Linked DNA regions of Homo sapiens: all the other regions are linked to region 1. The links are contacts of gene promoters, found by promoter capture Hi-C in blood cells and fetal thymus (Javierre and others, 2016). All regions are on one chromosome and are shown on one strand. Each heading gives the region's core, a stretch centred on a gene start or on the middle of the fragment in contact. The rest is flanking DNA. Distances are from core to core; before and after follow the strand shown.

The links. The method cuts DNA at HindIII sites, captures the fragments that hold promoters and counts their contacts. A CHiCAGO score of 5 or more calls a contact.
Region 2: a contact is called between the fragment with the promoter of C1orf167 here and the fragment with the promoter of SRM in region 1, in 4 of 17 cell types (erythroblasts, naive CD4 T cells, naive CD8 T cells and 1 more). The highest score is 9.5, in erythroblasts.
Region 3: a contact is called between the fragment with the promoter of AGTRAP here and the fragment with the promoter of SRM in region 1, in 6 of 17 cell types (total B cells, naive CD4 T cells, naive B cells and 3 more). The highest score is 6.7, in total B cells.
Region 4: a contact is called between a fragment that was not itself captured here and the fragment with the promoter of SRM in region 1, in 1 of 17 cell types (naive B cells). The highest score is 5.7, in naive B cells.
Region 5: a contact is called between a fragment that was not itself captured here and the fragment with the promoter of SRM in region 1, in 1 of 17 cell types (M1 macrophages). The highest score is 5.2, in M1 macrophages.
Region 6: a contact is called between a fragment that was not itself captured here and the fragment with the promoter of SRM in region 1, in 14 of 17 cell types (endothelial precursors, M0 macrophages, total B cells and 11 more). The highest score is 13.4, in endothelial precursors.

Annotation. Positions count from the first base shown.
Region 1 is chr1:11,056,940-11,061,958 of GRCh38, forward strand. It overlaps SRM (spermidine synthase), which reads right to left and starts at 3,079. Exons shown (of 8, transcript NM_003132.3): 1 at 2,838-3,079; 2 at 2,286-2,406; 3 at 1,861-1,953. The coding sequence starts at 3,004. RefSeq lists silencers at 2,599-2,788, 2,999-3,528. The HindIII fragment of the contact is 9,855 bases long and covers 1-5,019 here.
Region 2 is chr1:11,759,871-11,764,889 of GRCh38, forward strand. C1orf167 (chromosome 1 open reading frame 167) reads left to right here and starts at 2,323. Exons shown (of 21, transcript NM_001010881.2): 1 at 2,323-2,435; 2 at 4,461-4,600. The coding sequence starts at 4,531. It also overlaps the pseudogene LOC101060126. The HindIII fragment of the contact is 5,648 bases long and covers 557-5,019 here.
Region 3 is chr1:11,733,494-11,738,512 of GRCh38, forward strand. AGTRAP (angiotensin II receptor associated protein) reads left to right here and starts at 2,643. Exons shown (of 5, transcript NM_020350.5): 1 at 2,643-2,742. The coding sequence starts at 2,716. The HindIII fragment of the contact is 3,809 bases long and covers 1-3,747 here.
Region 4 is chr1:11,710,088-11,715,106 of GRCh38, forward strand. DRAXIN (dorsal inhibitory axon guidance protein) reads left to right here. Exons shown (of 7, transcript NM_198545.4): 4 at 1,764-1,878; 5 at 2,253-2,342. Among named protein-coding and RNA genes, the nearest start is that of DRAXIN, 21 kb to the left of the region's middle. The HindIII fragment of the contact is 3,153 bases long and covers 1,061-4,213 here.
Region 5 is chr1:11,660,315-11,665,333 of GRCh38, forward strand. It overlaps FBXO44 (F-box protein 44), which reads left to right. Exons shown (of 6, transcript NM_033182.7): 6 at 816-3,013. The coding sequence ends at 959. It overlaps FBXO6 (F-box protein 6), which reads left to right and starts at 3,886. Exons shown (of 6, transcript NM_018438.6): 1 at 3,886-3,941. RefSeq lists silencers at 3,952-4,171, 4,222-4,291 and an enhancer at 4,412-4,461. The HindIII fragment of the contact is 1,019 bases long and covers 1,364-2,382 here.
Region 6 is chr1:11,637,579-11,642,597 of GRCh38, forward strand. No RefSeq gene overlaps it. Among named protein-coding and RNA genes, the nearest start is that of FBXO2, 14 kb to the right of the region's middle. The HindIII fragment of the contact is 793 bases long and covers 2,454-3,246 here.

The DNA of each region.
Region 1 (5,019 bases), core at 1,829-4,328:
TCGATCATGGCTCACTACACCCTCGGCCTCCGGGGCTCAGGTGATCCTCCCCCATCAGCCTCCTGAGTAGCTGGGACAAGTGTGTTCAATCATACTTGGCTACTTTTTAAATTTTTGGTAGAGATAGAGTCTCCCTATGTTGCCTCGAACTCCTCGATCCTCCCACCTCGGCCTCCAAAAGTGCTAGGATTACAGCTGTGAGCCACCACACCTGGCCCCTTTTGGGAACCTCAGTTTATAATGTGTAAAGCGGGGAGAACTCTGGTACCTCCATTTCTCCTTGAGAGCTGGCTCCTGCCGGCGGCTTGGGCTCCTCTCTCCCATCCCTACCCCCTCCTTCCAGACCAAATCGCCCCATCTGAGTGGCTTTCTTGTCGCTTCCTATTTTATTTATTTTTCGAGACAGTCTTGCTCTGCTGCCCAGGCTGGAGTGCAGTGGCACGATCTCAGCTCACTGCACCCTCCTGCCTCAGCCTCCCGAGTAGTTGGGATTACAGGCGCACGCCACCAAGCTGGGCCATTTTTTTTTTTTTTTTTTTATTTTTAGTAGAGACCTTGTGATCTGCCCGCCTCAGCCTCCCAGAGTGCTGAGATTACAGGTGTGAGCCACCAGCGCTTGGCCTGTTTCCTATTTTAGAAGGATGCAATTCCAACCTCTGGCCAGGAGAACCTCCCCCTCCCTGCACACGGCCACCTGCTTTTCACTGAGGTCTCAGCTCAAACGCCACCTCCTGGAGGCCTGCCCTGACCACCCCCCATGCATTCACAGGAACCCTGCCTTCTCCTGTCCCCCAGCCCCTGTCTTGCCTTCATCAGACCATCCTTTGATGTCTCTATTTTTGTTGTTTGTTTTTTTTGAGACAGATTCTTCCTCTGTCACCCAGGCTGGAGTGCAGTGGCGAGATCTCGGTTCATTGCAACTTCCGCCTCCCGGGCTCAAGTAATTCTTCCACCTCAGCCTCCCTAGTAGCTGGGTTTACAGACATGCACTACCATGCCCGGCTAATTTTTGTATTTTTAGTAGAAATGGGGTTTCACCAGGTTGGCCAGGCTGCTCTTGAACTCCTGACCTCAGGTGATCTGCCCGCCTTGGCGTCCCAAAGTGCTGGGATTACAGGTGTGAGCCACCACGTCTGGCCATCTGATGTCTCCTTTAACTAGGACATCAGCTCCTAGAGGGCAGGGACTGATCTGTCGTCTACCACTGTCCCCATACCCGGGCAACACCTGGCACGTAGCATGATTTTAGTGAGCAGCTACTGAGTGTAAGGGGTAACGTACAAATAGTTGAGCTGTCTTGGGGCCCTGCCTGGGGCTCAGATTAAAAATCAGCTTAGTCGGCTGGGCGTGGTGGCTCACGCCTGTAATCCCAGTACTTTGGGAGGACGAGGCTGGCGGATCACCTGTGGTCGCCAGGTCCGAGACCAGCCTGACCAACATGGAGAAACCCTGTCTCTACTAAAAATACAAAATTAGCCGGGCATGGTAGCGCATGTCTGTAATCCCAGCTACTCCGGAGGCTGAGGCAGAAGAACTACTTGAGCCCAGGAGGTGGAGGTTGCAGTGAGCCGAGATCGCACCATCACACTCCAGCCTGGGCAACAAGAGCGAAACTCTGTCTCAAAAAAAAAAAAAAAAAAAAAATCAGCTCAGTTTTAGTAAGAGCTCGCCACGCAGGTGCCCTCACCACCTGCCAGGCCCTCTGCCATCTGGTTTTCCTACTGAACCCTCCCCGACCAGGTGTTTTCCAGATGGAGAAACAGGCCCTACCTGCCTTGCTCGGGGGTGTGCAGCCATTTCAGGGCACAGCTGGCCGCTGGGAGAACCAGGACTCAAACCTGGCTCTACGCCGGCACTCACCTCGTCGATCTCACACTGGACCACGGACTCCACGGAGGGGTGCTTCACCACCTCCCGCAGGACACCTCCATCTCCGCCCCCGATGATCAGCACCTGGGAGGAGGGGGCAGTCAAGGCAGGGGCCCTGGCAGGACTGGGAGCCCCCAGGCCCCTGAAGCAGACCCCCTGACCCCTCGGACCCACGGGCCTCATCTTTTTCTACCCTCGGAAACGCTTTCGTGCCGGTGTCCCCTTTCCTGGAAGTTCCTTCCAGGGCTGCCCTAGGATTCCGAGGCCGCGTCAGTGTCGGCCCCCACCCCTCCGCGGGACGCCCCTGGCCTCGCTAGCACTTTCTCTGACAACCATGCAGGCAGCATCTGGGAAGAGCCCGGAGCACACCTGGGGCCGCCCCTCGTCCGGCACTGTTCCAGGGGACACTGGGGTACCTTTCGCGGGTTGGGGTGGCTGCAGAGAGGCAGGTTGGCGATCATCTCCTGGTAGGAGAACTCGTCTCTCTCCGTGCACTGGATGACACCGTCCAACACCAGCACGTTGCCATAGGTCTTACTGCGGGCGGAGTGACAGTCGGGGACCTGGGTTCTCTGGGGTGGGGAAAACGTACCCCAAGCCGCCCTGGGTGAGGAGGGTCTCCCCATCCCGCCTAGGGGTCCCAGGGATGAGGAGCGATGGTGACACGTGGCGAGGAACGGCAGGCGGGCCGCCGGGTGGAGGCCGGGGTGGGACCCGGGGTCTCCTCGGGCTCTGACGTGTCCTGAGGGCTGACACGTGGAGCGGGGCGCAGACTCCGACTCCCCCACCCAAGAGGCCAGCCCGCAGTCCCAGCCCCAGCCCAGGGAGGCGGTGTGAGGGGTGGCGAGGGGGCCAGGGCAGGACGAGGTCCAGCCCGCTTGGGTCCCGGCGTGGAGAGGCCCGTGAGGCGGGCAGCAGGCGGCCCGGGCTGAGCCTAGGGGGCAGGCGCCTGCGGGCAGCGGCGGTACCTGCGGAAGACGAGGATGTCCTGGTAGCGCGAGCGCCGGTGGTGGAGCAGCTGCTCCACCTGCAGTGACAGGGCCTGGCCGGGCCACAGGCTGCAGGTCTCGCGGAACCAGCCCTCGCGGATGGCGGCGGGGCCGGAGGCGGCGGGGCCGTCGGGGCCGGGCTCCATGGCGGGCGGGCGGGCGGCGCGGGGCGCGGGCCCGGGACTGCAGGCCGCGCGGCGCCGCAGCACAACGGGACCAGCTCCGCCCGCCGCCCGCGCCGCAACCTAACCCGGGCGCGGGGCGGGGCCTGCCGGCGGGGGCGGAGCCCGCGCTCGCCAATGGCAAAGCGGCCTCGCCTGGCGCTCATTGGCCACCGGCTCGCAGAGCGGCGCAGAGTGGCTGTGGCGCGCCGTCCGTCGGCGGCAGCAGGGTAGTGCGGCCCGCTCCAGGGGCCACGTGGGGCCCGGCCGGGGCCGGGCGGCCGGGTCGGGTTCCGGGGCGGGCTGGGCCGGCGGAAGGGGTCCGGGTCCTTCCTCCGCCCCAAGCAGCCGGGGCGGTGCACCACCGGCCCCCGCTTCCTTCTCGGGGTTGGGAGGCACCGAGGGCCTCGAGGGGCTGCGGGACTCGGGCTTGGTGTGGAGGGCAAGAGCGCTGCGACGTGCGGACTGGAGAGTCAGCCTTTGGGCTGGAGACACGGGAGCGGGTGGCTACAGTGGTTTACGTTGTTGCACGGGGCGAGTAGAACGTATCCTTCTTTGCGTCCAAAATCTGGTTCCTTGTTGGATTTGAACAGATTATGTGGCTCGTCGGGGCGAACCGAGGGTTTTTATTTACTTGGAAAGAATCATCACAGCCCGCGAATTCACAAGCTGGATTTAGCCATTTTCCCTTAGATTCTGCGCCATGAGCCTATAGGCTGTTGAATACGAGAGAAGTGCTTTTCTAAACGAGTTTCTAAATTTACCAGCAGTGTCCAGGAAGAGGCCCAGAACATACATATTCAGCACCAGAAAAGACTGGCACGCAATTTTTCTTGACAAACTGGGTCTTGCTCTTTGAAGGGTGGGTGGGAATGTGCTGTTTTTATGAGAATGTCAAAGAACTTCTCAGAATCACATTAAGCATGCTAATTACCAAATATTAAATGCTAATTGTTCCACACGCAGTTCGAATGCCAAGGAAGGAAGATGAAACTAGTATAAGCTACTCTTGACATTATGTCAGGGATGGTTTTGACACGTTTTGCAGCCTCCACCTGGAGGTGGGGAACGTTTCCTGTGTCGTCCCCAGAGCAGAGTAACAGCGTTGTTTATGGGTGAGAGCAAGCCTCAAGCCTAGGCAACAATGTGCCTTGCTTGCTTTTAAGCTCCTTCTAAAGGGGAGGTAAACCAAGACCGCTAAAGAATTGCTAGGTGCCTGGGCGTGATGGTTCACCCCGGTAATCCCAGCACTGTGGGAGGCGGAGGCGGAGGCGGGCGGATCACGAGGTCAAGAGATCAAGACGATCCTGGCCAACATGGTGAAACCCCGTCTGTACTAAAAATACAAAAATTAGCTGGGCATGGTAGTGCGCGCCTGCAGTCCCAGCTACTCGGGAGGCTGAGGCAGGAGAATCGCTTGAACCCGGGAGTTGGAGGTTGCAGTGAGCTGAGATTGCGCCACTGCACTCTAGCCTGGGCAACGATAGTGAAACTCCGTCTCAAAAAAAAAAAAAAAAAATTGCTAGGCAGCTGGGCACAGGGGCTCAGGCTGATAATACTAGAATTTTGGGAGGCCGAGGCAGGAGGACCGCTTGAGCCCAGGAGTTCGAGACCAGCCTGGGCAACATAGCAAGACTGTCTCTAAAAAATAAAAAACATTGCTAGGCAACAGCTTCCATGGACTTGTTCCAGGAACGAAGATTATTCTTGAAATGTCCACGTAGTGGATAAGACAGAGTCAATCAGTGTGTCCAGTGCTACAGGCTTGATTGGGTTCAATCCTGTACTTGGGTCAAGGTGTTTGCCTACATTGCCTGTACTTCCTCCAAGACATTTCTGCCTCTGGGTTGTAACTGCCCGTGTACTTGTCTGTGTTCCCTAAGCCAGATCATAAGCTCTGAAGCTGAGGATGGTGGCTGTAGATGGCAGTACTTGTCTGTGTTCCCTGAGCCAGATCATAAGCTCTGAAGCTGAGGATGGTGGCCGTAGATGACAGGCCT
Region 2 (5,019 bases), core at 1,073-3,572, 700 kb after region 1:
AGAGGTTAGGGACTTGCCTAAGATCACACAGCAGCAGAAGGATTTTTTTTTTTTTTGAGACAGGGTCTCACTCTGTTGCCCAGGCTGGAGTGCAGTGACATGATCGTAGCTCACTGAAGCCTTGAACTCCTGGGCTCAAGCAATCTTACTGCCTCAGCCTCCCAAGTAGGTGGGACCACAGGTGTGCACCACCACAGCCGGATGATTTTTGTATTTTTTTTTGTAGTGATGAGGTCTTGCAATGTTGCCCAGGCTGGTCTTGAATTCCTGGGCTTATGAGAGCCTCCCACCTCAGCCTGCCCAAGTGCTGGGATTGCAGGTGTGAGCCACTGCGCCTGGCCAGCAGAAGGAGTTCATCACAGGTTTTCTGACTGAGTGCTCTTTCCTCTCCCAGCAGGTGCTTAGAAAGGAGAAAACATACAGTCTGGACAGAGGAAGGAGTGGGATGGCTGGGCACAGTGGGGAACAATGTGGGCAAAGGTTTGGGAGGTGGAAAGTGGACGGACCTTTGCAGCCTTGAAGGAAGTGTGATCGAGCTAGGCTGACGGCACGGCAAAGCTTGGGTATTAAGGTGGAGTCCAGCCAGTTTCTGAGGTGCCTGAAGGCTGGGAGAGTTTTTCTTTCTTTTTTTTCTTTTCTTTTCTTTCTTTTTTTCTTTTTTGAAACAGAATCTCACTCTGTCACCCAGGCTGGAGGGTAGTGGCATGATCACCACTCACTGCAACCTCCACCTCCCAGGTCCAAGCAATTCTCCTGCCTCAGCCTCCTGAATAGCTGGGATTACAGGTGCACACCATCACACCAGCTACTTTTTGTATTTTTAATAGAGATGGGATTTTGCCATGTTGGCCAGGCTGGTCTTGAACTCCTGACCTCAAGTGATCCGGCTGCCTCGGCCTCCCAAAGTGCTGGGATTACAGGCATGAGCCACCACATCCAGCCTTTTCTTTTCTTTTCTTTTTTTCTTTTTTTTTTTTTTTTTTTTTTGAGACAGAGTCTTGGTCTGTTGCTCAGGCTGGAGTGCAATGGCAGGATCTTGGCTCTCTGCAACCCTTGCCTCCCAGGTTCAAGTGATTCTCCTGCCTCAGCCTCCTGAGTAGCTGGGATTACAGGTGCCCGCCACCATGCCCGGCTAATTTTTGTATTTTTAGTAGAGACAGGGTTTCACCATGTTGGCCAGGCTGGTCTTGAACTCCTGATCTTGTGATCCGTCCACCTCAGCCTCCCAAAGTGCTGGGATTACAGGTGTGAGCCACTGTGCCTAGCCTTTCTTTCTTTCTTTCTTTTAACAAGAAATTTGTTATAGTTTTATTTTCCTTTGCATTTGCAAAATACTTAGGACCAACATGAAAAAGAAATACCTTCTATGGGGAAAAAAATGGCATTAAAAAGGAAGATGGGAAGGCTGAAAGGGATTTGTGCCTTAGTTGCAAGGAGCTGCAGCATCTCTGGTCCAAGGAATCAAAAAGATATTGGGAAGATATAACAGGAGGAAGAAGAATGTGAATTTACTGAGGGAGAGGGCCCCAAAGTGGGCCTTGAGGGGGAACTGGAGGCCCCGGAGTGGGTCTGGGTGGAGGGAGAGTCCCCCCCGGAAGCCATAGGGTGGGTGTTGGGGAGGGCCAGTGTATCCATGAGGCAGCATCGGTGGAGGAGGTCCACACATACCATGGAGGCATAGGACGTGAGTGACCCATGGGAGATCCAGACCGAGACCCCTTGGGGGACATGCTCATTGGAGGAGGTCCAGGATGAGGCATTCCAGGTGGTGATCAGGGTGGTGGCTGCCCCCCAGATCCTGGGGTCCCATCACGGGTGTGTCCTCAGCCATGAGGGCCATGGTTTGCCAGCTGCATCTGAGACATCCCTGGATGGGACATCGCACCTATTGGGAACGGGTGAGGATGTGAGTGTCCATGACCCGGATGTCCTGCCCCTGGGGTTCCTACCAGTGGGAGCCGGGGGCATGTCCTGCAGCCCCAAGAGGCATAGGTGGTGGGGACATGGCTGGGGGTATCCCAGATGTGCGGGGGCTCCAGGAGGCAGCTCTAGGTGCGGGAAGGAGCCAAGAGGAGGCACGCCTGGTGGAGGAAGCCCAGACCCCAGTGATGCTGCCACAGGATTCGGGGCAGAGGGTGGAGGAGGTTCCCGGGGACCTGATGGCCAAGAGAATGTCGCTCATCTTGCACGTGCAAAAGTTGCCCTGGGACCACGTGCCTTGCCTGCGGAGGACCCGGCAAAACCTGTACCAGGACGTCGGTGGCCACGCCCACGGCTCAGGGCTGGGCGGGGCCAAGCGCGGGGCAGCACGCTCTGCTCTCCGACGTCCCCTCCCGCCCGCGACCTGCCGACCTGCGGGGATCGTTAGCGGTCCCAGCCCCCGTCTAGATTCAAATCCGACTGGGTGAAGGAGGACCCGAGGAGGACCCACGCACGTGAGGGCAGATCCATGAGGGCAGGAAACTGACCTCAGACTCTTTTGGTGGCAAGAGGAGGGAGGCTGTGAGCCCCCTTAAGTGGACAGGGGTGGGGGTGGAGTGGGAGGGGGGAGTCTGAGGGAGACGGACGAGGAGCGGAGAAATGGACCGAAGAGCTCCGGCGTGAGGGGCAGGGGTGCAGGAAGGTCTCCTGTGGATTGAGCGGCCTCAAGTCAACTTGGGCAAGAGGGGATGGTGGGGTGTTCTTGGTTAGGAGTCTGCGCTGTGGAGCCAGCCCTGGGGTGCTCCCTCTGAGGCCTTGGGTGGGACAGGCCCTTCTAAGCTCCTGTCCTCATTTCTAAAACAGGGAACCTAAGTCCCAGGGCTGCAGTGCAGATTAAATGGCAGGACGCCTGCTGAAGGCTGCAAGGTGCCTAGCACGGTTGTCATTTATTCAATGTGCATTTACAAGCCCCTGCTGGGGGTCAGGCATTGTTCTATGGGCTGCAAATCCAGCAGGGAAACAAACAAACAAAAAAAACCAGCCTGCCCTCGTGTGGCTCCTAGGCCACTGGAGGGAGAAATACACTAATTTCTTCACTATGTTAGGTGGCCGCAAGTGCAGGGCAAAGAGAGTGAGGAGAGGCCAGGTTGCTGCAGTTGGAGAGACAGTGGGCAGGGAGGGCTCACTGTGATGTGGGAGGCAAGACTTGAAGGCAGAGGGGACAGCAGCACAGAGGCGCTGAGGTGAGGTCGTGTGTGCCATTTGGAGGAGCAGCCAGGGGGCTGGTGTGTGTGGAGGACAGTGGGCAAGGGGAAGAGGAATTGGGGAGGACCATAACTGGCAGCCAGATTTTAAAGACTTTGCGGGGCTGGGTGTGGTGGCTCACGCCTGTAATCCCAGCACTTTGGGAGGCCGAGGCGGGCCAATCACCTGAGGTCAGGAGTTCGAGACCATCCTGGCCATCATGGTGAAACCCTGTCTCTACCAAAAAATAGAAAAATTAGTCTGGCGTGGTGGCATGTGCCTGTGGTTCCAGCTTGTTAGAGGCTGAGGTGGGAGGATCCCTTGAGCCCAGGGAGGCAGGCGGAGGTTGCAGTGAGCCGGGATCACGCCATTGTACCAGCCTGGGTGGCAAAGTGAGACTCCGGCTCAAAAAAAAAAAAAAAAAGGTTTTGCAGCCTAAGGTATCTTGCAGCTATTGAGCTCTGCTATTGCAGCTGGAAAGCAGACAGTCTGTAAACAAATGGGCTTTGTTTCAATATAACTTTATTCACATAATAGACCACTGGCCCAGGCAGTAATTTGCTAACCTCTGGCCTACAGCCTTGAAGGCTCACGGGGCATTGAGGGGGCTGGAGAGCTTCTGTGGCATTAGAGTTGAGGCAGGGCATGATTTGATTTCAGTGTTTACAGGATCACCCTGCCGCCGCATGAAGAGGAGGCTGTCGGGCGTGAGGACGAGGCAGAATAAGGGTGACCAGTTGGGAGGTGGCAGGTGAGGGCCACTCCGCCCAGTGCTCCAGGGGTCAGATCCTGGATGCGTGTGGGAGGCAGAGCCTGTCAGAGCAGCCACTGGTGTGAGGGAGAAGGGGAATCGGGGTGGCTCCAGGATTTTTGTTTGAGCCACCAGAAGGCCGGAGCTGCCATCCGTGGAAAAGGGGGGCACCAAGATGGGAGAGAGCTGGTTGCGAGGACGGCTGGAGTTCAGTTTTGGACATATTAATGCTGAGATGCCTGTTAGACATCCGGGTAGGCGTGGAGGAGGTCGCTGGACCTGCATGTTCAGACCTGTATGCAGATCAGCCGAGAGGTCTGGGGGGCAGGATGGGGCAGCATTTGACCTGGACACTTAATATGGAAAGGGGGGTGATAAGTAGGGCAGGGAGAGGAGCCACTGAGAGACCAGAACAGTGAGGGGCAGGCCCCAGGCAGCTGGGACCAGGCCAAGAGCAGCTAGGAGTACTGCTAAAGGGAGGAGGTAGGGATCAGAATGGGGTGGGGTTGAATGAGAGCCAGGGCAACCTGTCCTCTCCCCGCAGGGCCCATCTGATTAAACAGACCAGGCCACTCACTGTGGAGTGGACCAAGGATACTCCTGTCCCTGAGCCCATGGAGCTAAGGTCTGATGCCAGCCACAAGGAGAATGTGTCCCCAAAGCCTGCAGCGCTCCCGAAGCCAGGCAAGAGGCTTAGTGGGCCTGGATGGGCAGTTACAGGAGCAGGGCCCTCTCTAGGTATTGGCCCAGAGCCCCCCTCCCAGGCAGGCCAGCCTATAGGGCCTGGCTAATTCCAGAGATCAGCCACCCACGGTCGGCTGGACATAGGACAGAGTCTTCCCAGCCTGGGGCCTAAGGAGGGGGGTCTTGGGAGAGTGAGGTCAGGAAGAGGCCTGGCTGGTGCCCCTGGCTAAGATGGGGCCCCCACAGCTCGGTCCTGGGGACATCCCTTCTCAGGCTGCTGAGGCTTTAAGAAAGCCACAGAGGGCCGGGCGTGGTGGCTCACGCTTGTAATCCCAGAACTTTGAGAGGCCAAGGTGGGTGGATCACCTGTGGTCAAGAGTTCAAGACCAGCCTGGCCAATGTGGTGAAACTGCGTCTCT
Region 3 (5,019 bases), core at 1,393-3,892, 680 kb after region 1:
GTCAGCTGTGACCTTTATGATGGGTGAGGAAAGGTATCACACCCTTCCGCCCCTACAGGGTCCTGTAAATGTCAGTTTAGTAAATGTCAGCTCTAATCCTAGGAGTTGTTTTGCGGTTTTTTTGTTTTTTTTTTGACATGGAATCTCACTCTGTTGCCCAGGCTAGAGTGCAGTGGCAGGATCTCGGCTCACTCCAACCTCCACCTCCCAGGTTCAAGCAATTCTCCTGCCTCAGCCTCCCAAGTAGCTGGGACCACAGGTGCACACCCCCATGCCTGGCTAATTTTTGTATTTTTAGTAGAGACGGGGTTTCATCATGTTGGCCAAAATGATCTCGAACTCCTGACCTCAAGTGATCCACCGGCCTCAGCCTCCCAAAGTGTTAGGATTACAGGCTTGAGCCACCGTGCCCGGCCTGTTTTTCATTTTCTCCTTACAAAGTGATCACAACTTTATTATATACCTAAAGGCTTGGATTAAATCCCTCTAGAATCTGGAGTGTATGGGAAATATTTTTTAGAAGGAAATTGATCAGGCTGCGCACTGTGGCTCACGCCTGAAATCCCAGCACTTTGGGAGGCCGAGGCGGGCAGATCACCTGAGGTCAGGAGTTTGAGACCAGCCTGGCCAACGTGGCAAAACCCTATCGCTACTAAAAATACAAAAATCAGCCGGGCATGTTGGCACCCACCTGTAGTCTCAGCCACTCAGGAGGCTGAGGCAGGAGAATCACTTAAACCCGGGAGACGGAGGTTGCAGTGAGCTGAGATCGCGCCACTGCACTCCAGCCTGGGTGACAGAGCCAGACTCCATCTCAAAAAAAAAAAAGATAATAATAACATAATATTCTAATATTGACTGCTTACTGAGAAATTACTCTCTTCTAAGTACTTTACTAATAACAATAATTAATTACCAATAATGAACTAATAATAATAATAGCAACCAGTCCTAAATCAAACTGGATGTAGCCATTTGGCTGGTCTCTAATTTACCCCTAGACTGGGGGGATCTGTGCCTCCTAAGAGGGCATTAAGTTAGGCCTATGGGCCCTGCAGCCCTGCAAAACTCTCCTCATCCATCCAGAGAAACCCTTTCTTTGCATCTGGAGAGACTATGGGTCTTGGTATTATCTAAGGACTCACCCAGGCAGTTTTGTAGGTTCCCACCTGGTTTCCCCCACCCTAGGAATAAGACCAAGTGCTCAGGTGTACCCTGAAGGTTTCCATACCTAGGTGACACTAAACAAAAGCTGGTGTTCTCTAAAGGAAAGTTGATGTTAGGAAGGGACCTGGAGGTAGAGCGGATTAATGTTCTTGTTGCGGTGGGGGGATGTGGTGGTCAACAATCTTTAAGGGAGGTGCCAGGTGAGGCAGGAGACAGCCCTTTCTTTCCTCATGTACAATTGGGGGAGGAATTTCTTATGGTTTTTCAGCTAGAGTTTTCTAAAACTTTTGGTATGCTGATTAAAGTGGGCTCCCACCAATTTGGCTCCTCAGGTGTTGCTTTTTGTTTGTTTGTTTTTCCCAGACAAGGTCTCACCCTGTCGTCCAGGCTGGAGTGTAGTGGCGTGATCTCGGCTCACTGCAGCCTCCCCGGTTCAAGCAATTCTCGTGCCTCAGCCTCCTGAGTAGCTGGGACTGCAGGTGCACACCACCATGCCCTGCTAATTTTGGTATTTTTAGTAGAGACGGGGTTTCACCATGTTGGCCAGGCTGGTCTCGAACTACTGAGTTCAGGTGATCCACCCTCCTTGGCCTCCCAAAGTGCTGGGATAACAGGGGTGAGCCACTGCGCCCAGCCTCATCTTGTGTTGGTAATAACAATAGCTTGTGTGTCCTGCCCATTTACTAAGTGCCGGGCACTGTTCTCTCCTAGAACAAACCGTAGTTAGACTCCTCTGAGTCCTCATCTTGACTAGGCCTCGGCCTTGGACCTCTGTGTCTTCCTGTCCTTGCTGGGCCTGAGCCTGCATAATAAACCAGTTTCAGCAAGAGTCCTGCTAAGTTAGCAAGAACTCCCCCATCCTTGATGTCTCCTCCTAGGAATCTTCCATTCCTGCTCCCTCATTCTGCTCTGGCTATAAATCCCTCCTTGGTCCTTGTTGTATTCGGTGTTGAGCCCAAACTCTCACTCCATGGCAATAACCCTACAGCAAGTCTTGAACAGTACTGGTTTAACAACAGTCCCAATAACGTTTTCTTTAACAACAGCAGTTAGCTCATTTAATCCTCATAAGGATCATATGAGGTAGGTAGCCTAAATAGCCCATTTACACAGGGAAGTGGGAAGGAGAGAGGGTGCCCCCAAGGATGAGACACAAGCTGTTGCCACATCAGCACTTTGCGCCTGGACGGTCCCCCAGTTGTCCTGGCTGCAGGCAGTCCGAACAGTCCGCTTCCTGGAATATTAGCCAGGCAGGATACGCCCTGGGCGACAGAAACTCCAACTTTCGCCAGCGGCCCCCAAGTACTGCCTGGGCGGTGGCGGGAGTCTGGAGCTTGGCTGAAGGCGCGAGCTGCCGACGCCGTCTCCTAGCAACCAAGCGGCGGTCACGTGACCCGCTCCAGCCCGTTTCACGTGGTCTTGAGCTGCGCTGGGGTTGGAGTGGCCGCAACGGGCGGGGCGGGGCGGGGCCGGGCAAGTTTGTTCCCCGAGTTCGGAGCCTAGGAGCCCCCCGCGGCTGCGGCGCAGGTGCCCTCGGCCTGAGTCGGGATGGAGCTGCCTGCTGTGAACCTGAAGGTGGCGACGGGCTGGGGGGAGGGTCCCCTTTGCGGGAGGAAGTGGGACATTTGCATTTTCCCGGAAGGTGGGAGGAAGGACCGGAGTTTTGGGGAAAGAGGGATGGTAGGGAGGAAGGGAAGGTACAGACCCCACGCAAGAAGGAGATGGGCAGGCAGGCCACAGCAGGGAGAGTGATCCAGGCACAGGCCAGCAGGGCGACACTGAGGGGCCGTGGGAGGTGGCAGCGGAGGGCAAGGGCCGCCCCCTCCCGGACTCAGACCCTCCCAGCGGGCAGCGCCGGTCCCAGCATTGCTGTTGCCTGCACGCCCAGAATTCCCCTGGAGGAGGAGGAAGGTGCGCGGGAGGGGCTTGTAGGCGGCTCACCTCCCCCGCGCGGGGTCAGGGACTGGGCTTGCCCCCCGGGTCCCAGCACCGTTTCAGGAGCCTCCTTGTTTGCTAAGTCGGGTTAAGGAAATCAGATGTTCCCAAGCAGTTGGTTTTATAAAGTTTACACATCCAGCGCCCTTATTTCATAATCAAGAAGCGCGAACTCCAACAGAAATTACTTAAAAGCAGAAAACCCCAACTTTGTGCACTGGGGAAAACACTGCAGGGCTTCCTGTGGTGTCTTCATTTCCCGAGCCGTGAGCTCAGTCCGGGTCTGGGTGCCAGCGGCTGTTCTTTTTCTCCCCGCCCAGCCCCGCCGCCCACGTGTCTGGGCTCCATTTGCATTAGAGGGGCTAGGGGCTGTAGTTTTGGTCAGGAAGGTGTGGACCTTGGACCAAACCGGCCATTTTGGGTCTTAGTGCAGCCTCCTTTGAGGCAATATCCAGGAATGTCCTCTTACTCATGAATGACAGAGCATTTAGCTCCCTGTTGGTGTCTGGGACTAAAGGAACCTGAGAAATAGATGGTTACAAAACAATGGCTTAATACACTTTATTATTACACAACATCTGTGCTATGACTTGCTATAGGCATGTTTCCCTTCTTAATCATACTTGCTTCAGCAAACCTTCCTGAAGCTTCCAGTCAAAGGTGGTGGGGAGACATGGCTGGAGCAAGGGAATGGGCTTGGATGGAACGTTCAGCTGGGAAGAAATTTACGTGACAGCAGCCGAGGCTTGTTGGTATCAATATGCACTCTATTCCAGGCAATGTGGGGTTAACACCAACTGCCTTTTCTCTGATGAGGGATTTGCTTAAAATAATTGCTGACAGAGGATCAGGTGAGGGCAGTGGGAGGGACAGAGCTCTAATTTATGGGCTTCTGTGGTGTGCCAGGTTATTTAATCAAGGCAGCCTTATGAGAAAGCTGATATGGTCATCTTTTTACAGATGAGCAAACTTCAGCTTAGACTGGGTAAATTGCCAAGGTCCCACGGGGAGTAAGTGGCAATATCAGGATTTGAACCCATAGGGATCAGACTCCAGGGCCAGGTCCTTTCTGGGGTACCAGCTTAGGGCTGACTTTAACGTTGGCTGTTTCTGTCCTTTGGGAGGGCTTAGTCTCTTTGGGGCTTTTTTTGAGCAACTTTTTGGGCCTGACAGGCTAAGAGCATCCACAGGTATGAGCTATGCTGGCTTTCGGTACCCAGGATGAAAAGGCTGGTCCTCCCCTTGACTTGGCAAACGAGACCCCAGTCTCCAAGGGTGTTAGCCGCTACCAGTCAGAGACAACAAAGTGCTGGAAGGCCCTGAGGGGTCAGGGTTGTCAGGTCGTGTACAGGAGATCCAGGTGAATTTGAATTTCAGATCAACAACGAACAGTTTTTTAGTATGAGTAAGTCTCAGGCAATATGTGGGACATATTAACAAATTATTCATGATCTGATATTGGAAATTAACTGGGTGTTCTGTATTTTTGTTTGCTGGATCTGGCCACCCTGTGGAGGGCAGCTGTTGACTCCTTGCTTATAGGCACTTAGGGGATGTTCTGAGTTCAGAGCCCTTCAGGAGGTGGGGAACTGCTCCCTGTGGCCTGCACTCCCTCCCCACTCCCTCGTTTTGTATATTCCTTGGGCAAGGGCTGAGTGCCTGCTTCTGCCCAGCTCAGCCAGAGTGGGCAGTGGTGCCAGGTGAGAAGAAACAACTGCCCCAGGCCCTTTGCACAAAGGGCAGCTCCTGACCAAGCCCTGTCCATGTCTCTTGAAGCCAGGTCCTGAGCTGCAAGAATGACATTGTGATGAGCTTAGAAAGGACTGGACTAGGGTACAGAGGTCTTGTGGGAAGAAGACCTTGGGAGGAGGATCTGGTGGTCTAGGAGGTAGTCGTGTAGCATTTGGGTTAAAAACT
Region 4 (5,019 bases), core at 1,387-3,886, 650 kb after region 1:
GGCAGGAGAATCGCTTGAACTTGGGAGGCGGAGGCTGTAGCGTGTCAAGATCGCCCCACTGCACACCAGCCCGGGTGACAGTGTGAGACTTTGTCTCAAAAAAAAAAAAAAAAAGAAATGTGGGGCGGGCACGTTGGCTCAAGCCTGTAATTCTAACACCTTAGAAGGCCAAGGCACGAGGGTCACTTGAGCCCAGGAGTTTGAGATTATCCTGGGCAACATAGTGAGACCCTGTGTCTACAAAACTTTTTTAAAAAATTAGACAGGCATGAGGGCATGTGCCTGTAGTACCAGCTACTTGGGAGGCTGAGGCAGGAGGATCGCTTGAACCCAGGAGGTCAGGGCTGCAGTGAGCCATGATTGCACCACTGCACTCCAGCCTGGGCGACAGAGTGAGACCCTGTCTCAAGGGAAAAAAAAAATGTGGAGAGAAAGTAAGCGGCAAATGTGGCAAAAACACTACCCACTGGTGATTCTGGAAGAGGGGTATATAGGAGCTGACCGCATCGTTCTTGCACCTCTTCTGTGGCTTTTAAAGGTTTTCAGGCCGGGCGCGGTGGCTCATGCCTGTAATCCCAGCACTTTGGGAGGCCAAGGCGGGCAGATCACAAGGTCAGGAAATCGAGACCATCCTGGCTAACATGGTGAAACCCCATCTCTACTAAAAATACAAAAAAAAAAAAAAAATAGCCGGGCATAGTGGCAGGCACATGTAGTTCCAGCTACTTGGGCGGCTGAAGCAGAGAATTGCTTGAACCCGGGAGGCAGAGCTTGCAGTGAGCCAAGATCACGCCACTGCACTCCAGCCTGGGCGACAGAGTGAGACTCCATCTCAAAAAAAAAAAAAAGGTTTTCAAACTAAAATTATTTAAAAGGATCAATAATATATATGTATAAAAAATACATAAAAAAGAAATAGGCCAGGTGCAGTGGGTGGCTCACGCCTGTAATCCCAGCACTTTGGGAGACCGATGCGAATAGATCACCTGAGGTCAGGAGTTCGAGACCAGCCTGGCCAACATGGTGAAACCCCGTCTCTACAAAAATACAAAAGAAATAAAGCTTTTTTAGCAGCAGATCTTTCTTATCCTTTTTTGGGGTCTTGCACCCCCTTGAGATTGTGATAAAAGCTGCAGACCATTTCCCAGGAATACATGGTTATCCGTCTTATCATCCAAGGCCCCCTGCAGGCCAGCCTAGAAGGTGCGGTTCCTGCCCATGCCCTAGTGCTCGCACATGCCCGTGTGTAGATCCAGCTATTGCTGAGGACCTCTAGCCCTCTGCATTCCTGGGGCCACTGGCCCAGGCTGTGAGTGGGACTGAGCCCTGGTTGTGGCCTCAATGGTGCCACGGATTGCTGGTAACCTCTGCAGAGAGAGGAAGGGATGGGAAAGTCCAGTGAGTGGCTGGGCTACTTCCAACACCCTCCTCGTGGGCTTAAAGACCCTGGGCAAGCAAGGTTGCCTTCCCAGCCTGCAGGTGGTCTCTGCCCCTCCTCAGAGGGCCTGGTAGGTAACTCACCTGTGTGTGTGTGCATGGTCCTTCTTGAGTAATGGCTGCACAGGAAGGAAATTACCTAGTGGCCACTGGAACAGGAGCCTCCGGCAGCCATCTTTATGTCCTTGGGCTGAGACTCCAGGCTGCCCAGCAGAGGATAAGGTGGCCTCTGAGAAGCCTCTTTTTTGTCCTCTGACCTTGGGACTCCACACTCCTGCTTCCATGGATTTGAAGGTTCCAACATCCCCCTTCTCCACGGTCTCCAGCAGGCACAGCCCAGGTCTGACGGGGAGGTGATGCCCACGCTGGACATGGCCTTGTTCGACTGGACCGATTATGAAGACTTAAAACCTGATGGTTGGCCCTCTGCAAAGAAGAAAGGTATGCCCACCTACCCCACTATCTTCCATGCCTGGGTGCCCTGCCCTCCCGCACCATCTGTTGAGGTGGGGGCCCCAGTGAGCCCTGTCTGATCTTCAGATGTCCAAAGGTGGGATGTGGGGAGAGGGGGAGCATGGAGCCTAACCTGGAAACACCACTTGGAACGGAGAATGCTGTCAAATGCTTATCACGTGCCACACGCTTCCATGTTTCCACTCATGTTACCCTGAGGGAAAATACCTGTTAGGTCCAACAGTGCCTTGTCCAAGCCATGCTGTAGAGTGGTGGTATGGGCACTCCAACATCTGAGTCCCTGTGCTTAACCTCTGCTCTGCTGGGCCCCAGCTTCTGACGACAGATCTTCTTATCCCCAGAGAAACACCGCGGTAAACTCTCCAGTGATGGTAACGAAACATCACCAGCCGAAGGGGAACCATGCGACCATCACCAAGACTGCCTGCCAGGTACCAGCCAGCACCCACATTCAAGGCACCAGGCTGGGTACTGGGAGGGAACCTGGGTGGGAGTGGGGGTTCCCACATGTGCAGGACCTGAGAATCCTTGACCCTTCATGGATGATAAATAATAACAACAGCTGCCACTTTCCTGAGAGTTGCTGTCAGACATCCATTCATTTCATACATTATTCACAGCCAGGCACGGTGGCTCACACCTGTAATCCCAGCACTATGGGAGGCTGAGGCGGGTGGAACACCTGAGGTCAGGAGTTTGAGAGCATCCTGGCCAACATGGCGAAACCCCATCGCTACTAAAAATATAAAAATTATCCGGGCATGGTGGAACATGCCTGTAATCCCAGCTACTCGGGAGGATGAGGCAGGAGAATCAATCGCTTGAACCTGCAAGGCAGAGGTTGCAGTGAGCTGGGATCATGCAACTGCACTCCAGCCTGGGCGACAAGAGGGAAACTCCATCTCAAAAAAAAAAAATACCCTGGGCATGGTGGCTCATGCCTGTAATCCCAGCACTTTGGGAGGCCGAGGCAGGCGGATCACGAGGTCAGGAGTTTGAGACCAGCCTAACCAACATGGTGAAACCCCGTCTCTACTAAAAATACAAAAATTAGCTGGGCATGGTGGTGTGCGCCTGTAATCTCAGCTACTTGGGAGGCTGAGGCGGGAACATTGCTTGAACCCGGGAGGCGGAGGTTGTGGTGAGCTGAGATCGTGCCATTGCACTCCAGCCTGGGCAATAAGAGTGAAATTCCGTCTCAAAAAAAAAAAAATACATTACTCACAACAACGCAGTTTTCAAGCCAGGTGATTGAGCCCCAGAGAGGCTGTCTTGCCCAAGGTCACACGGTTAAGAAGTGGCTCCAACCTGGCCTGGCTGGAAAGCCTCTTCACCACAGCCCCATGCTGCCTTAAATCGGGATGATCCTCTCTTGCCCTCTTCCTCCTGACACCAGGCAGGGCTTAATGCTGTCCTTGTCCCATCGCAACACTGCCAGGCATTCTGGAGATGCTTTTGGTGACATCCTCACTGTTCGGCAGCCGTCTCCATGGAGACAGTCTAAAAACAAGAAGCCGGACGTTGTAACTAATGTCCTAAACCCTGGGGGCCCTTGGGGGTCCGTCGGACCTTCCAGGAAGCAGATACTGAGGTAAGTTAGAAGTGTGAGACCGGGTGCAGTGGCTCACACCTGTAATCCCAGCACTATGGGAGGCCGAGGCGGGAGGATCCCGTGAGCCCAGGAGTTCAGGACCAGCCTGGGCAACACGGGAAGACTCCATCTCCAAAAATAGTAATAATTTAAAAAAATAACCAGGCTTGGCTGGGTGCGGTGGCTCACGCCTATAATCCCAGCCCTTTGGGAGGCCGAGATGGGTGGATCACAAGGTCAGGAGTTCAAGACCAGCCTGGCCATGAAACCCCATCTCTACTAAAAATACAAAAATTAGCCGGGCATGGTGGCAGGTGCCTGTAATCCTAGCTACTCAGGAGGCTGAGGCAAAGAATTGCTTGAACCTGGGAGGTGGAGGTTGCAGTGACCCGAGATCGCACGACTGCACTCTGACAGAGCGAGACTCTGTCTCAAAATTAAAAAAAATAAGAAAATAAAAAATTAACCAACCAGGCTTGGTGGTGTGCGCCTGTGGTTCCAGGTATTCAGGAGGCTAAGGCAGGAGGATCACCTGAGCCTCGGGGGTCAAGGCTGCAGCGAGATATGATCGCACCACTGTACTCCAGCTTGGGTGACAGAGCAAGACCCTGTCTCAACAAAACAAAACAAAAAGCACAACAGATTTATTTTGGGGTGGGCTAGGGGTGGGAAACACTTGTGAATGACGAAAGGTGGAGGAAGCATGGAGGAAGCTTCAGACATCATGCACCGGATGGGCGCTCCAGTACAGAGGTGGCCTGTTAGACGAGGCCCGTGCTGAGCAGAAATGGCTGGGCCCCAGAACCCCCATGCCCGTCATTGGCAGGGGCTGCTGGGAACAGCCTGCCATGGGCCAAGGTGGCCCTGAAGCTGTACCAGCTGGAGGCCGCCAGCAAGTGCTTTCCCCAAGAGAGATCGGAGCGGCACACCTCCACGGCACCACGATTGTTAGATCAGTGACCAGAATATTCTACAAAACAGCAACCAAACCAGCAATTAGCATTGTATAAGGCAAACCACCAGCTCCCTGACAGGCTGCTTCATTCCCAAACCATTGTTTTCACCCTGGGCACAAAGAAAAGGCCCGCATTTGGGCCGACTGGACAGTCGCTCTGGGAGCCGGCTCCATGGCAGGTGCCCAGGACTTCAGTTTCCCCATCTGTCAAAAGAGGACATTGGTTTTGGGGATCCTGAGGCCCCTCCCAGCTCTGAGCTGACTCCACACCTGGCAGCCCCCAGCTGTTCTACTGGCTCTGTCTGGGAGGAGACCTCACACCACCTTCGCTCTTCCCATGGTCAATCAGTACCCCATCTGAGGCAGCTGGGGTCTCTGCCACCGACCCTTGGGGGCCTCGGCCATGACATCTCCCTGTGGTTCCACTCAGGAGCCTTGCACACCAGATGGCCCACCCCGCCAGGGCGCGGCCTGCCACAGAGATGATGGATCTCTTGTCCAGTGGGACCGAGTGCAGGGCTGCGGGGAGGGGCGGCTCAGCTTGGCTGACTGCGTGTGCTCT
Region 5 (5,019 bases), core at 623-3,122, 600 kb after region 1:
CCACGCCAGCTAATTTTGTATTTTTAGTAGAGACGGGGTTTCTCCATGTTGGTCAGGCTGGTCTCCATCTCCCGACCTCAGGTGATCCACCCGCCTCAGCCTCCCAAAGTTCTGGGATTACAGGCATGAGCCACCGCGCCGGGCACTTTTACTTAATTTTAACCTAAATAATACATGTGCCCCGTGATGAGTATATTGGACATCCTTTGGCAGCTTGCAGTTTCTTTCCATTCCTTTGGGCTGAATGATAATCCTGTGGAGTAGACCAGCAGGATTTTGCTCCATTTTATAGATGAGGAAACTGAAGCACAGAGAAAGGAATTGGTCTGTCCCAAATCACAGAGTTCAAACTAGAACTCCACTGATTTCTAGCTGGCACCAAGAACTCAGCCCCTTCCTTGTTCCCCTGCCCCCCTCAGGCAGTGCCACACTCAGAGTCTGCTCCCACCCTTTTTGTTAAGGCTCATCTTTTATTTCTTTTGTTTTTTAGAGACACGGTCTCACTCTGTTGCCCAGGCTGGAGCGCAGTGACGTGATCACAGCTCACTGCAGTCTTGAACTCCTACTTTAGCCTGTACTCCTGCCTCAGCCTGCCTAGAACTACAGGCACACACCACCATGCCTGGCTAATTTTTTTTTTCTTGTAGAGATGGTATCTCACTCTCTGGTTTGCGACAAGACTAGTTGCAAACTCCTGGGCTCAAACAACCCTCCCACCTCAGCCTCCCAAAGTACTGGGATTCCCGGTGTGAGCCGCCACACCCAGCCTGAGTCAGCTCCCTTGACCTTTCTCCCCCCTCTACCTGCCCTGCCAGGTCTCCCACACATTCTCCAACTACCCGCCCGGCGTCCGCTACATCTGGTTTCAGCACGGCGGCGTGGACACTCATTACTGGGCCGGCTGGTACGGCCCGAGGGTCACCAACAGCAGCATCACCATCGGGCCCCCGCTGCCCTGACACCCCCTGAGCCCCCATCTGCTGAACCCTGACTGGTAAACAACTGCTGTCAGAAAAGGGCTGGGCTTGGGAAGGGGAGGTGGAGGCCAGGTGTCCCCAGACCTCTAACCCTTGCCCCTAGCAGCCTCTTCTTTGTGGAGCCTCTCAGTGTGGGCAGCCCTCGCATGCTGGGGTCGGGCCAGCTCTCCCCGAAAGGTCTTGACCTGAATGATGGCCGGGGAAGCCTGCGTGTGCCCCTTTCAGAGACGGAGCACCTGAGATGTGGGAGGTGCAGCATGTTCCCCTGGGCCCCTCAGAAAGTCGAGCTTGGAGGCCAGCCTGGATCTGTCTCTCCCTTCCCCTCCTGGGACCATTCTACCTGTGTTCTTTGACCCTCGGAGCAGGGACAGGCAAGACAACTGGCAAGCTTGCAGCTGCCCTGATGGTGCAGGTGCAGGGAGGTGACCATGTAACTCTGACCAATCTGGGAAGTGGAGGGTGGGCTCATGGGCCGTGCTCTGCCCCTGTCTGCTGCTCCCAGTCTCTCGCTCTGCCTGCCTGCTCAGAAGAGGTGGCTTTGGCCCAGAGGCTCAGGCCGGGACTGAGATGGACAGACCCAGGGTGGGGTGGGGTCCAGGTCGGGTGTGGACTGTCCTCACTGTCAGTGGAGCCCCAGAAGCTAGATGGGTACCAGGTGGGGTTAGGTTCCCAGAGGACTGAGGGAATCCTGTACAGGATGTCCCAGGGTAGATGGGGAGCAGGATTGGGACCTGCTCTGACAGCTGGACACATGAGCCCTGGATGAGTATGGTAGGGGGTTTGAAGAATCCCCTGTCCACCTCCCAAATCCAGGCCCGGCCCCCTCTGGCTTGGAGAGCATTCCAAGCCCCCACCCCACCCCTAGAACTGCCATTCCCAAGACCTCTGTCTCCCAGCCAACCACCCTTGGAACTTGCCTCTTGTCCTGCTGGAAAGATAGCAGTGTTCTCCTGACTTCGCCCTACTGCATGCAGCCAAATAAAAGGTGTGCCCAGTCTAACCTGTGCCCTGTGGTTTCTGGAAGGAAAGGCAGACTTTAGGTGGTCCTGCCTGGACCTGCAGATGGTACAATGGCATGGCTTCTGTCTAAGGTACAGAGGGGTTGGCATTTCAGGAACCAGGCCATCACAGAAACAGGTTCATGGGCAGACCCCTCAGTGAGCTGCAGGTATCTCACCTGGCAGCCGTCCAGTACTGCTGGCTTCCTCTGGAGGCCCAGCCACAGGCTGGGGTTGGGGTGTGTGGACATCTCTGGGCAGCTCTTGAGTCCACCTTGTGCCAGATCAGCAGTGCCACCCAGGCTCTGCCTCCTGGTGTTACTCTTTGCCAACAGCTTTACGGACATTGGATGAAGCCGAAGCATTTAGAATGGTGCCTGGCACACAGTTGGTGCGTGATATGGTTAAGCTTTGTGTCCCCACCCACATCTCATCTTGAATGGTAATCCTGGGTGTTTAGGGAGAGACCTGGTGGGAAGTGATTGGATTATGGGAGCGGTTTTCCCCCATGCTGTTCTCATGATAGTGAGTGAGTTCTCACGAGATCTGATGGTTTTACAAGTGACGGTTTCCCCGGCTCCCTCCTGCCGCCATGTGAAGAAGGTCGTTGCTTCCCCTTCACCTTCCACCACCATGATTGTAAGTTCCTTTTTTCTTTTCTTTTCTTTTTTTTTTTTTTTTTTTTGAGATGGAGTCTCGCTCTGTCGCCCAGGCTGGAGTGCAGTGGCGCAATCTCAGCTCACTGCAAGCTCTGCCTCCCAGGTTCGCGCCATTCACCTGCCTCAGCCTCTGGAGTAGCTGAGACTACAGGCGCCCACCACCATGCCCGGCTAATTTTGTTTGTATTTTTAGTAGAGATGGAGTTTCACCATGTTGGCCAGGGTGGTCTCAATCTCCTGACCTCGTGATCCACCCACCTCGACCTCCCAAAGTGCTGAGATTACAGGCGTGAGCCACCGCGCCCAGCGATTGTTTCTTGAGGCTTCCCCAGCCATATGGAACTATAAGTCAATTAAACCTCTTTCCTTTTATAAATCACCCAGTCTCGGGTATTTCTTTATAGCAGTGTGAACATGGACTATAATCCAGTGCTCAATAAGTACTCCTCACATTTAGCTATCTCAGTCAAGGGTGAGCTAGATAAGGGCTTTGGCCAGGGCAGGATCACCACCCACCAGCCCATGGCAAACTGCAAAAGGACGGCCTTCCACGGAGAACATGTAGCCCTGACTGCAATTAATGTGTCCTGGGCCAGTCCCCTTGTGCAGTACACAGCCTGCACAACCCTTGGTGGTTGCCTGAACAAGGTGCTTGCTAAATATTTGTTGACTGATGGAAGAAATTCATGAACTTAATCCTGATAAAAAACCTCAGAGGTTTTTTATTTTTTGAGACAAGGTCTGGCTCTGTCGCCCAGGCTGCAGTGCAGTGGTACAGTCTCCACTCACTGCAGCCTCCCAGGTTCAAGCGATTCTCCCACCTCAGCCTCCGGAGGAGCTGGGATTATAGACCTGTGCCACCACGCCCGGCTAATTTTTGTATATTTAGTAGAGACAGGGTTTTTGCCATGTTGGCCAGGCTGGTCTCGAACTCCTGACCTCAAGCGATCCTCCCCACCTCGGCCTCCCAAAGTGCTGGGATCACAGGCGTTAGCCACCTCCTAGCACCTCAGGTTTTTTACCTTTGAGTCTATGAAGCCTGCGGAGGTCACGCCCTAGGGAAAGAAGGAGCCCACTGGGTGTCAGGTCCTGCCTCTAGGGAGGGGACCGCGGGTCAAGGGTGGAGCCCTGGGCCGCATAAGGAAGGAACTAGTGCGGAGGTCCGGGGAGCGGCCGCGCGTTCGGGAGCTTCGGCCCTGCGTAGGAGGCGGGTGCAGGTGTGGGTGCTGAGCCGCCCGCCGCCTGGAGGGGGAGACAGCTTCAGGACACGCAGGCCGCAGCGAGGGCCCGGGCCCTGGGGATCCCAGGTTCGTCTTCCCGCGGCGAGGGTTAGGGGCCGGGCCGAGAGGGACGGCAGCGGGGTCCGGGGCGGGGGTGGGGACCGAGCGCAGCGCGTGACGCGGCGGCGGGGCCCAGCGACAACGAAGCCGAGGCCGTAGGCTCGGGCCGACCTGGAGCTCCGCCGCTGCGCCCAGGTCGCGTCCCCGGGGGGACGGGCGGCGGGCGAGTGGGGAGCCGGGGTCTCCGGCGCCTGGGCGTTCACGGAGCCTGCGGGCGCTGGTCCGGGCGGCCAGGGGTGGGGGGCGCGGGCGGCTGGGCCCGGACTTCGACTGGGGGCCTGGCCCCGGGGCCACCCAGGCGGAGGCTCTGCGGCCGCCTCCACCCCGGCCACATCCCGAGGCCGGCGCCGGGTTCGGAGAACTGTCAAGGGACCTCCAGGCCCCCACACGCCTGCGAGATCCGGCGCTTGCCTTGCCCCAGCCACAGTTTCTGTTTCCGAGAAACCGGTGAAGTAACAATGCCACTAGAGCTTGCTGGGAGGGTGGGTGCGGAGAAGGCGAGCACGAGACGCCGGGCCGGGCAGTTGGGGACCCCGATCGGTGTGAGAGGGCTTCCTAGGGCTGGCATGGACTTCCCCACCACAAAATGCCCAGGGCCGGGGGGGGGAAGGGGCGCAAGAAAATGCGGACTGGGCCAGAGACCAGACTTCGGTCACCACGGTGGGAAGCTATTGGTGCCTAGATGCCTCTAGCTTGGAGCCCAGTGACTTTTATTTCGTCTAGAGTCTAGACAGTGCCTTTAGAAGCTGCCAGCATTTATTTATTTATTTATTTATGGCAGAGTCTTGCTCTGTCACCCAGGCTGGAGTGCAGTGGCATGATCACGGCTCACTGCAGCCTCGACTTCCTGGGCTCAAGCGTTCCTCCTGCCTCAGCCTCCTGCATAGCTGGGACTACAGGCACGGGCCACCAGGCCTAGCTAATTTCTTTTTTTTTTTTTTTTTTTTTTTTTTTGAGACGGAGTGTCGCTCTGTCGCCCAGGCTGGAGTGCAGTGGCGCGATCTCAGCTCACTGCAAGCTCCGCCTCCCGGGTTCAGGCCGTCCT
Region 6 (5,019 bases), core at 1,600-4,099, 580 kb after region 1:
GGAAACAGAAGGAGTCACTGTCAGCAGAGCTGTGGCTGGCTGAGCACTTGCCCTGTGGCAAGCACCATGGTGAATTCTTCCATGTCGAGACCTGTGAGGAATGGGGCTCTGTGTTGGGTTTTTGACCCAGCACCCTCTGCACTCTTCTGTCAGCCACGTGGTTCTCACTGGGTGACTCCACCCCAAGCCTTGCCCAACAGGGCACCGGCCCGCTAGCCACAGCAACTAGCTCAGAGGTGGGCGCGTGAACCCATTGAACTTGATGGTGGAAGGACATAGGCCTGGGGGGCTGCCGACCCCTTCTGGAGTGAGCCTGCTTGGGATGAAGCCACACAGAGCTGAGAGACAGAGAAAAGCTGAGTTCTGAATACACTGTTGGGGCCTCTGGATCCAGCTGTACCTGAAAGGACACTGCCAGAAATCCACACAGAGCTTCTCATCCATGTGAGCCAGAACCTTTGCTTTTGGATTAAAACACTTGGAATTGCATTTCTGCCCTTTGTATCTGATAGAGTAGCAAACACTACAAGGACTGTGATTAACGCTGTTTTCTGAGTCAGGAAACGGAGGCCTAGAGAGGAGAAGCTACTTGCCCCAGGTCATACAGCTATGGACATGAAGAACCAGTGCTCCAGACAGGAAAGCTCCCAACTCCAACTTGCTCAACCTGGGGTTCCCTGGGAGGGCGGGGGACATTTTCAGCAGGACCCAGAGGACAGGGACATAAAGGTAACAGGTTGCTATGGTTACCAGCTCACTGTGTGGCCTCAGACAAGCAACCTCACTTCTCTGAGCCTCAGGCTGGGAACAAAAACATCTCGCCCCTGCAGAGTGCTGGGGGTCCCTGGGGCAGAAAGCATGGCTACCTCTTGCCCCCGAACCCAGAGAACTGTAAGTGGGGGGCTTCCTCAACCCCAACTGACAGAAGCCCCAGTGGCTGTCAGACACACCCCACCAGCACACACACTCCACTTGGTTTTAAATGTCTCTCAAAGACCAAATTCAATTTAGTAGAACTCCACCAGCTCTGCAGTGCAGAATTCATCGGATGAGGTGCCTGCTTTTCGGGGAATAATTCATTTTTCCTGTGTCGGAGAGGAAAGTAATTGATCCAAGGGGTTGATGCCTCCTCCCTCCTGCTCTCCCTCCCCGGGACAGTCTGATTCCAAATGCAGACCCGAGACTGTTAGGTCAAAGTCGCAGCAATAAATAGGAGTGGGGACTTCTGCTTTAATATATTGGATTATTCCACTTGGTGGTGACGAAAAACAAGATTTAATTCCCCAAGAAATGCCAGCCGAGAAAATCATTTTCCCTGCCGGCTTCCCCCTTCCTTTTTTTTTTTTTTTTTTTTTTTTTAGTTTTCTTTTTTTCGAGGACATCTTTGTCTTTCTGCAGCTTTGAGGGCCTCTCTACACCCTGCCCCACTGGAGACCTCCCCACACACTGCCCACAGCGTCTGGGGGCCTGTTTTTCTGTCCTAGAACATATTCAGGATGTTTTCCTCCCACCCTCTCAATCATAGGTCCCTGAGCACAGAGATTTCTATTCGAATCCAGATGCTACTACAGTGCTTCGCACATTGAAAAATTATGACAATAAGCCCCAGGAAAAGGCCAGTTAGTACTGCAGCTCCCAGTGACAGCCCAGGAAGCTACAAGCTGGCTAGGGAAGTAATTCACCCTCCTACCATCACTTGGGTCAAGAGTCCATGGACCGCCTCCTCCAGGAAACCTTCCTGATCAAGGTCTATGTTAGATGTCCCTCCTCTAAAATTCAGTAGGCTTCCCCTCACCACCCTTTTACTATTATTAGACTATAGTTGCCAGACTTGTCCATTTTATTTAACAAACTTGTATGTAGCACCTTTTATGTGCAGGCCTTGATCTAAGTGTCTTACCTATATTAATTCATTTGATTCTCATAACAATCCTATCAGGTAAGTAACAAAATCATCCCCATTTTACAGATGTGGAAACTGAGGCACTAACTGGTCACACACCTGGGGAGGGTCAGAACTGGGAACCCAGATCCTTCTCTCCCTCTAGTCTGTGAGCTCCTAGAGGACAAGGACCTCATTGGTTCACTGTTGTATCCTCAAAGCATAACAAGGTGCTGACACGCAGAAGGTGCTGAGTAAATGCTTAAGTGACCGGGCACAGTGGCTCACGCCTGTAATCCCGACACTTTGGGAGGTCGAGGCGGGCGGATCACTTGAGGCCGGGAGTTCGAGACCAGCCTGACCAACATGGTGAAACCCCATCTCTACTAAAAATACAAAAAACAGCCAGGTGTGGTGGTGCACACCTGTAATCCCAGCTACTTGGAGGCTGAGGCAGGTGAATCACCTGAATCTGGGAGGTGGAGGTTACAGTGAGCCAAGATCATGCCACTGCACTCCAGCCAGGGAAACAGAGTGAGATTTCGTCTCAAAAAAAAAAAAAAAAAAAAAAAGCTTAAGTGGTAAATCCTTCCACATATGAACCAAAGATCAATTCCTGAGGCTGAGTCTAAGTGTGTGATTTGTGGGACACAGAAAACTCCACCAATTCCAACTGAACCCGGAAGCCCACGGCCTCCACCACAATTCCTGTCTGCACAGAGGACTAGAATCCCTCCGCAAGAATCACTTCACCCAGGAAAGCCTGCAGGTGGTGACAGGGGGCGAGGAGAGGCAGCTCTGGAGGGGATTCCAGCCATGCAAAGCCCTTGCTGTGTGACCTGGGGCGAGAATGCACGTCTCTGGGCCTCAGTTTCATCTCAGCCTCTGAAATGGGAATAATAGCACACAGATGTGCTTGGAGGATTAAATAAAACCATACACAGGTGATGTTTTGAACACACCTATCACATGGTGAGTGCTCAGCGTGTGCTGAGATAGCATAGATTGTAAAACTGGACTTTGAGGCTACTTTTGCCATGCTCAGAAAATAAAAAAAAATAAAAAAAAATTAAAAAAAAAAACCTCATCAATCCGAGTAAATGAAGCAAACTTAGATCTGGATGGGAGGGTAGAGTTTTCTTCACAGTAGTAGTGAGGTAGGTGAGTTGCCAAGAATTACCAAGAAGAATTTCACAAATCACACACAATCCATTTACTTCTGGGAGTTATCAGGATGTGGGAGAGTCTGAAACGGAACTTACTGGACCAGAAATAGCATTTGATGAGCGTTTCATTCATCCGGCCAGCACACACTGAATGCCTTCCATGTGCACGAAGCAATGTGCAGATGAGGAAAGGGCTCAAGCTTTGGGGGCCATGGCGACAGAAGCCCCGTCCCAGCCAACTCTGCAGCCTACAGCTTGGTGACCTCGACCAAGGGCCCCACCTCTCTGAGCCTCGGTTTCCTCTTCAATAAATTTTGTGATGACAAAATAAAGCCTCCCGAGGAGGCTGCTGTAGGCAGTCGATGAGATAATGCAGCAGTAGACCAACAAATGTTGGTTCCCTCACCTTCTGGCAACGGCCCACAGCAGTCAGGCCACTCCATTCAGCTTCACTGTCTTGTTCCAAGAATCTAGTGGGTGCAGGAACTGGAGGCACATTAGTGCCTGGGAGTATCAAACCAGGTTGGCAGGTGAGGATCGTAGGTTCCATTTGTGTGGTTGAGGACAAGGGGCAAAGCCAGGTGAAGCCCAAGTGTTTCTGTCTCTAATTATTTTTATTTTTATTTTAGAGAAAATCTCACTGCCACCCAGGCTGGAGTGCAGTGGTGCGATCTCTGCTCACTGCAACCTCCATCTCCCAGGTTCAAGCGATTCTCATGCCTCAGCCTCCCAAGTAGCTGGGACTACAGGCGTGTGCCACCAGGCTCAGCTAATTGTTTTGTATTTTTGGTAGAGACGGGGTTTCACCATGTTGCCCAGGCTGGTCTGGAACTCCTGACCTCAAGCAATCCACCCGCCTCAGCCTCCCAAAGTGCTGGGATTACAGGCGTGAGCCACCGCGCCTGGCCATGTTTCTGTCTCTAAACCCAAGCTGTTAACACTGGACAAATGGCCTCCCTGATTCCTAGGAGAGGAAGGGAGGAAAAAAAGCAGAGTGGGGAGGAAGCCAGAGACCCCTGAATGCAGCTTCATTCATCAAAGGTGACCGCAGAAAGGCAGGGGAAGGTCCCAGGGGGCCTCGGATGGACATGGTCAGGGGAAGGTCCCAGGGGGCCTCGGATGGACATGGTCAGGTGGCTGGGAACTTCCACAGCGTTCCCCTCCACGCCTTAGAAACATCACCTCTGTGAGTGATTCCAAGCTCTTTGCACCCTCCTCCTTGGTGCCAGCCCCCTCCTTCATTCTGGCAGTTCTCCCTAACATCTACCTGCAATATTTCCTGCTGCATGACCAGCAGACCCCAGTGGCAACCCTAGCGAATGGCCCTCAGCCCTGTTCCATCCTGTCTGCAGAGCTCCTAGCAAGCAGCTCCTGGCTCCAGGCAGTAATCCTACTGACAATTAATTGGCTTTTGTTGGAGGAGAATGAATACCATCTCATCTTAATCTTCTTCATTATTCTCCTTGTTCAGCAGAGTCAACACAAGATTAGGTTTAATTTACGGTGGTGGGAAATAGCAAAGTCATTATGCACCAGGAACTCAGGATTGGATCTGTCTGGGTGTTCTGTGTTCACTGCAGGCCTGGCACCATCAAGCAAGGCCCAGGGCTCTGCCGAGGTGGAGATGGACTTGGGGGGGTTCTAGACTCCCAGACCTACTTGGAGCTAGATCCCAGGATACCACCAGCCCTCCCTAGTTGGGAGGGGCCCAGCTCTGGAGGGGAGTCCAGCCATCCAAAGCCCTTGCTATGTGGCCTGGGGTGAGACCCAGGGGCCTCCCAGGCCTTGGAGACCTAGCCTCCTAAATGTTTCTCATACAGCCTCTGGGGTCAGAGCAGCACCAAATCCCAGCCCCTGAAGAGCCAGGCTCAGCCCCAAACAATGGGAAGAGACCAGGACTTGGATTCAAATTCGACTTTTCCTCCGCAGAGAAATGGGCAGGACAGACACAGCTTGGGGACAGCCTTGACA